Linked DNA regions of Homo sapiens: region 2 is linked to region 1. The links are contacts of gene promoters, found by promoter capture Hi-C in blood cells and fetal thymus (Javierre and others, 2016). All regions are on one chromosome and are shown on one strand. Each heading gives the region's core, a stretch centred on a gene start or on the middle of the fragment in contact. The rest is flanking DNA. Distances are from core to core; before and after follow the strand shown.

Evidence for each region. The method cuts DNA at HindIII sites, captures the fragments that hold promoters and counts their contacts. A CHiCAGO score of 5 or more calls a contact.
Region 2: a contact is called between a fragment that was not itself captured here and the fragment with the promoter of CBLN3 in region 1, in 1 of 17 cell types (naive B cells). The highest score is 5.1, in naive B cells.

The regions. Positions count from the first base shown.
Region 1 is chr14:24,427,497-24,430,917 of GRCh38, forward strand. CBLN3 (cerebellin 3 precursor) reads right to left here and starts at 2,172. Exons shown (of 3, transcript NM_001039771.3): 1 at 1,259-2,172; 2 at 790-909; 3 at 1-490. The coding sequence starts at 1,558. The coding sequence ends at 293. It overlaps KHNYN (KH and NYN domain containing), which reads left to right and starts at 2,458. Exons shown (of 8, transcript NM_015299.3): 1 at 2,458-2,623; 2 at 3,218-3,421. The coding sequence starts at 3,235. RefSeq lists a silencer at 2,295-2,834 and enhancers at 2,865-3,044, 3,189-3,421. The HindIII fragment of the contact is 4,979 bases long and covers 1-2,889 here.
Region 2 is chr14:23,326,461-23,330,258 of GRCh38, forward strand. No RefSeq gene overlaps it. Among named protein-coding and RNA genes, the nearest start is that of PABPN1, 6.9 kb to the left of the region's middle. RefSeq lists a silencer at 1,733-1,822. The HindIII fragment of the contact is 1,983 bases long and covers 539-2,521 here.

The DNA.
Region 1 (3,421 bases), core at 922-3,421:
GTGCAGATCTTCCTTCTTGCCAAACCTTGCCCTGATCCTAGGGCTGCAGGCAGGAACAGATGCAGCAGGTGGCTGGGAGGGTAACTGGGGGTGGGTGGGTGGAAAGGCCTGGTCTGGAGATGCCACAGCTCTACTCTTCTCTTAAACTTGGGTGTTTGGCACAGGGTCCCATGCAAAGAGGTGGGATAGGAGCCAGAGGGAGTCTCTCTCCTGCCTCTGCTGTTTCTGGGGCAAGAGAGGGCAGAAGAAAGTTGTCAGGGGCTGGATTCTTGTGCTTGAAAGACTTGGGTCCTCAGAGAGGGAAGATGAGGAAGCCAGAGAAACTTGAGTATTTCCAACCACCCAGTAGATTCCCCCGACGCAGGCGCAGAGACACTCGGTCCCCAGGGTCCAAGGGCAGTAGCACAGAGCTGGTGGCTGCCTCCCGGGTCACGTCAGGATCATTGGCAAAGGCTGAGATGACAGGCCACGTGTTCAGCATCAGGCTCACCTGGGGAGGGGAGCCCAGTTAGCCCCCATTCCCCAGCCCTTAGCTCAGGACCCCCCACTTTCCCAGGAGCTTCCTCTTGGGAAGCTGGGTTTTAATGGGCTCTCCCGGGAGGGCTGAGGGGCGGCCAGCATTGGACTCTGCACATCCTCCACACTCAATGCAAGGCAGGCCCATTCCTCCCCTGGTCCTGGCCTCCAGGACACAGGTCAATGGAGAGTCCACCCGGAGGTCAGCTGGGCTCCCCTTCTTCCCCCTCCCCACCCTCCTGAGCCGGGGATGGGGGCCAGTGCTGAGGTCACCTGGACAGTTTGGCGGTTGTACACCTTCACCACATGGAACCGGAAGCTGTAGACACCCCGGACAGGGGCTACGAAGGAGCCAGAGGCCCGGTCAAAGCCACCGCCCTCGTTCACCAGGACCTGGGGGAAGCAGAGCCTGCTGAGTGGGGCTCAGGAAATGCCCATGGCTCAGGGGTACCATGGGGACTAGGGGCAGGGGCAGTGAGTAATGAATAGAAGGAGTGGCAAGTAGGAGTGAATAGGAGTGAACAGATTCAAAAGAAATGGTGAGAAGGGGCAAGGAGAGGGCTGCGTATGGGTGGAGGGAGGGGAAACCGTCGGTGGGGTGGTGGGGCAATAGGCCAGATTAGTGAAAGATGTAGGAAGCTGTTTTCTTAAAGCCTCAGAGACAGCAAAGTGGGCTTGGACAGTTGCTTCCAGGTCCTTGCAGGGTCTTTCCAGGTCCCCTGGACAGGGGTAGGGGGATTACCTGGTCGAAGTAGATGGCCCCACTGGTGCCATTGCCGGTTTCCCCTGCTGGCTCATGGTGGTGGCTTCGGACCGCAGCAAATGCCACTCGCCCAGGGGGTGCCTCTCCCAGGGCTGCTCCCCCGGGCCCCCCTGCAGCAGCTCGGCCAGGCTCACAGACCACCAGGCACTCCCCCTCCAGCAGGACGGGCTCTGACCCCTCCTGGGCCCACCCGGCCCCCAGGGCCAGAAGCACCAGAACCAAGGGCAGCCCGGGACTGTGTAGGGGACCTGGTAGCCAGTGTGGCTTGGCTCCCAACATGGCTGAGGGGCTCTGCAACCCACAAGTGCCCCGGTCTTCTGCCCCTCTTCTGTTTCCGCTCCTCTCCCTGGATTCTCACCGCCGGCACCCTGATCGTCTGCCCTCTCTAGGCTCGCTGAACCCCCTCTCCATACCTGTGTCCCAGCTCTGTCCTGCCTCCCACTCTTACTCCTGCTGTCACTGCAGTTCCCTCCTCCTTGGCAGAGCATGCAGTGACAGCAGTTGGGCTTTGGGAGAGAAAGGAGGGATGAAGCCGCCTGCCCACTGGACGGGAGGGCTGCAGCCAGAGCTTCAGGGCAGCCCTGCTGGATGGGACAGCACTGAGGGCTGGACCTGGGGGGATGGAGAACATGGTATGTGTGTGTGACGGGTGTGACAGAATGTGTGAGTGTGTGCATATGCCAGAGGCAGCCCCTCAACCCCTTCCTCCTACTCTTCCTCTCTTCAAAATCCCCCACAAATCAACAGCCCTTCTTCGTGGCATCTTTCCGTTTGTTGGAAGAAAGGGGTACTCCACCACGGGTACCCTCCGCCTCCCGCCTCCCGCCTACCCCCTCCGCCACGATTGCTTTGGTGGAAAGTGCTTGGGCCTAGAGCACCAGTGGGCCAGTCACGCTGCCTCTTTGGTCGGCCACATCTTTATTCGCGGGAAACAACTTTCAACGCATGGTTCCCCTTTCCGAGAAGTAACTGCGCAGAATGCGCGAGGACCCTGAGGGCCGGGAGACAGACGGGAGGGCTGGTGAGAAGCGCAAGGGGCGAGCCCTGGAGCCGCCGAGGGGACTAGGCCGAGCGGGCCCGTCGGGGCCTCTGGGCGCGGCGGCGGGGTTGGGAGGAGGGCGCGCAGCCGGGAGGAGCTGGGCTGACTCCGCCCCAGGCCAGGAAGTGACTCAAGAAACAGTTTGCGTGCGATGTGGACAAGAGAGGTCCCCGCTGGGTGAGGAACCCGGGAAGGCCCGCCCAGATTCGGGCCCCCTGCCCTTGTCCCCTGGGCTGGGGGCGCGGGCAAAGCGGGGGCCTGGCGGGCGCTGAGAGGACCTGAAGCCGGCGCGGGCGGCGGAGGCGGTAGGCGCGCCCCTCCACCGCGCCCGGGAGCGGGGAGCGGGGGCCGCGGTGCGGAGTAGGCCCGGCCCGGGGTGGCTGCCCCAGTCCGCGGTGGGCGGGCCCGGCCCGGCCCGGCCCCTGGGCCCTGGGCGGTGCTCCTGGCCCGACGGAGAGGGGCAGCGGACGGCTGGGGGAGGGGTGGGAGTGGCTTGAACCTTGGAAATGGCAGACCAGGGCCCCCAGAGGACAGCCTAGTTCAATCCCCTGCTGAGGATTCGTCCTTAAGAAGCTTCAGAGTGCCCCAGGAGACTCCTTCTGGCCTCCAGGCCGAGCTGGAGCCCCCCCACCCTTCTTGCTCCGGACTGTGGTCATCCTTTTCCAAAGCCCAGACGCCCACTCTCGATAGACAGCCTTGTTTACCGGGACTTCCTCTCCGGAGAGGCCTGCGTGACATACACCCTCCCTACCTCCAGTGGACTCAGATGCTTGTCACCTCCTGGGGCTGTTTACCAGAGCCTTAACTAGGTGCGACCTGTTGATAGCTGGTGTAGTCCCAGGAACCAGGATTTGGATGGAGGGTACAATGAGGCTCTGAGCTGCCTTCTCCCCTTCCAGGGCTGGGGGCAGCAGCCATGCCTACCTGGGGGGCCCGCCCCGCGTCCCCAGATCGCTTTGCGGTGTCTGCGGAGGCTGAGAACAAGGTTCGGGAACAGCAGCCCCATGTGGAGCGCATCTTCAGCGTGGGGGTGAGCGTCCTTCCGAAGGACTGTCCGGACAACCCCCACATCTGGCTGCAGCTGGAGGGCCCCAAGGAAAACG
Region 2 (3,798 bases), core at 280-2,779, 1.1 Mb before region 1:
GGACTTTGGGAGGCTGAGGTGGGCAGATCACGAGGTCAGGAGATCAAGACCATCTTGGCTAACATGGCGAAACCCCACCTCTACTAAAAATACAGAAAATTAGCCTGACGAGGTGGCGGGTGCCTGTGGTCCCAGCTACTCGGGAGGCTGAGCCAGGAGAATGGCGTGAACCCAGGAGGTGGAGCTTGCAGTGAGCCAAGTTCACACCACTGCACTCCAGCCTGGGTGACAGAGTGAAACTGTCTCAAAATAAAAAAAGGAATAGCCGAATTACTGACCTAATGGCGCTTTTGTGTGCTCCTGATACAGCTTACGTGCAAATGAACTATCCATGCCTGCAGCCCTAGAGCTTTGGATTGGGGTCTGGGTAACCTTGTCTTTGGGGTCTCGCTATGTTGACCAAGCAATCTTCCCATCTTAGCCTCCCAAAGTATTGGGATTACAAGTGTGAACCACTGCACCCAGCTACCTTTTCTACCTCAAGGTGGGCCCAAGAAATGCAGAAGACAAAATACACTTAGCTAAGAGACAATCGGAAAGCTTGTTTTTCCAACCATGCAGTAACCATTTAATGTGTCCAGCTAACTTATATTAATTGGATCATTTATTTTTTTGAGATGGTCTTGCTTTGTCACCCAGGCTGGAGTGCAGTGGCTCACTGCAGCCTCAACCTCCCGGGCTCAAGTGATCCTCCCACCTCAGTGTCCTACATAGCTGTGACTATAGGTGCCTGCCTTCACACTTGGCTAATTTTTTGTAGAGACAGTTTTGCTGTGTTGCCCAGGCTGTCCCAAACTCCTGAGCTCAAGCAGTCCTCCTGGCTTGGCCTTCCTATAGGCGTGAGCCACAGCTCCTGGCCAGGATTAGTTTATTAGGACTTCACAACTGGCTTTCACTGTTTTCATATCTAAATTTTGTCTTGGGCATCCTAATTTCTCCATTTTTTATTCCAGTGTCAGATTGGTCTTAAAACTTGAACACTACATCACTAGCCAGGTTGAACCTTCAGACTTCATTACCTATAGAATTTCTTAGTATTTCAACCTTACTATTTTTTCATTTACTTCTCAGGATGTTTTGTTCACAATTGCCTCTGACCTGGATGCTCTTCAAAAATCATATGTTAAAGAAATGGCTCTGTGGCCGGGCGCAGTGGCTCACACCTGCAGTCTCAGCACTTTGGGAGGCAGAGGTGGGCGGATCACTTGAGGTCAGGAGTTTGAGACCAGCCTGGCCAACATGGTGAAATCCCGTCTCTACTAAAAATACAAAAATTAGCCAGGTGTGGTGGCATGCACCTGTAGTCCCAGCTACTCTGGAGGCTAAGGCAGGAGAATCGTTTGAACATAGGAGGTGGAGATTGAGGTGAGCTGAGACTCAGCCACTGCACTTCCAGCCTGGGTGACAGAGCGAGACTCTGTCTCAAAACAAACAAAACAAAAAACTCTGTTATATCTGAAGCCTTAACCCACCTCTCAAATTGCAGTATTTTCTAAAATCTCATGTCAGTGTTATCCACCACATATTTTAGGATTTGGTCATTTATTCTACTTTCTGTTATGGGTTAGGCATTTGAGGTCTATCTTTTCTCCTAACTAGATTCACCTAAAATAGTGCCGTGATCTCTGTGGCTTCTGCAGAGGCTGATTAGTGAGGGTCTGGATAGTGTTCAATATAAACTTTTTACTGGAAGAATGAAACAGCCTAAGTGACTTGTTGCTGTTAATGCTGTGATGGTCTCATCTGTCCACCAGGGGGCACTAAATGGCTGGCTCTAAAAGATCCCCATAAATTGTTGGGTATTGGAGGGTGAATCATGTTTTGACCCTTCTCTGGTTTAGTTTTCCATATTCAGTCAATTCTACCATATCTTGTCTGTTCTCTCTATTCCTACTTTCACTGCTTGAGTAACTCCCCATCATCATTGCAGGGGTCCTGGCAGATGTATTGGCTTCAAATTTTTTTTTGAAAAATAAAAATTCCTAAAAAAAGTACTTTAAAAGATAGGGTCTCGCTATGTTGGCCAAGTTGATCTTGAACTCTTGGCCTCAAGCAATCCTCCTGCCTCGGCCTCCCAAAGTGCTAGGTTTATAGGCGTAAGCTACCATGCTCAGCCTCCAAACTTCTTATTGCCAAAAAAAGCCCTCTATGATGCCACCAATAAGTACAAAGTCCAAACACAAGCATGGAACTACAACCTTTTTCAATCTGATCCTGATTACATTTCTCTTCCAGATCCTGCCCTACACCTGATGTACTATGCATTGTAGTTGTTATTTATTTTCATGTATCCCTCATGCTGTTCCCTCTAGCCTGCTATGCTCATTCCAACTCTTCTATGAAAATCACGCATATCCTTCCAAGTGTAAGCCAGGTACAACAGACATGAAGCCTTTCCTGATTTCCAAGTCAGAAGTAATCACTCCTGCAGTCAGGACAAACTGTTCCTATCCCTGTTTAATATTTACTTTGTGGTTTTATAATGAAACTAACTACATTTCTGTTTTCCCACTAGAATGCAAGCTTCTTCTTTTTTTTTTTTTTTTTTTTTTTTTTTTTTTTGAGACGGAGTCTCGCTCTGTCGCCCAGGCTGGCCTGCGGACTGCAGTGGCGGGATCTCGGCTCACTGCAAGCTCCGCTTCCCGGGTTCACGCCATTCTCCTGCCTCAGCCTCCCGAGTAGCTGGGACTACAGGCGCCCGCCACCGCGCCCGGCTAATTTTTTGTATTTTTAGTAGAGACGGGGTTTCACCTTGTTAGCCAGGATGGTCTCGATCTCCTGACCTCATGATCCACCCGCCTCGGCCTCCCAAAGTGCTGGGATTACAGGCGTGAGCCACCGCGCCCGGCCGAATGCAAGCTTCTTGAGGGCATCAATTGTGACTTTGTGTCTGCCTCACAGGGCCTGCCATTTAGTAGGTGCCCAAAAGTTGCTTATTCACCCTGGGCTTGCCTTTCCTGTCCTGGAGAAGGCGGTAACAACAATAGTGTTGCCTTTTACCTGGAGCTGGTAGTTTTCTTCCTCTTTTTTTTTTTTTTTCCTGAGACGGAGTTTCACTCTGTCGCCCAAGCTGGAGTGCAGTGGTGCCATCTCAGCTCACTGCAACCTCCACCTCCCAGGTTCAAGCAATTCTCCTGCCTCAGCCTCCTGAGTAGCTAGGATTACAGGCATGCGCCACATGCCTGGCTAATTTTTTGTATTTTTAGTAGAGACGGGGTTTCAACATGTTGGTCAGGCTGGTCTCGATCTCCTGATCTCGTGGTTAACCCACCTCGGCCTCCCAAAGTGCTGGGATTACAAGCGTGAGCCACCATGCCCGGCCTTTAGTTTTATTCTTATAAGAGTCAGACTATTTTACTTAAAAGAGACTAGGTTTAGAGGAAGAAGCATGGAAAGAAAGTTACTTTCCTCGGGCAAGCTTGGTTATTTTTGGTGGATGATTTCTGTCAGTCACTCCTGATCGGCTCTCTGTTAACTGAGGGATAGAAATGAGCCCAATCTCACTGGAGTTCCATGGGAAGAAAGAGACTGGGAGAGCCTGTGTATAAAACCTGTCTGGGGTGAGGGTCTGTGAGTCAGAGATCCTTAGAGGGCCTTTGGATGATGCAAAATAAACCGAGGCAAGCCAGTGCTTTTTAAGGTAGGATTTGCCCAATCCGACGTTGGCAATGGAGAAAAGAAACAGTTGGTGGGTTTTTACAATAATATTGCTGCTTTCCTTGTTTTTATGTATGGTTAGAATGAGCAGCCTTTCTCAAATTATGATCACATTTTATTATTATTATTATTTTTTGAGAT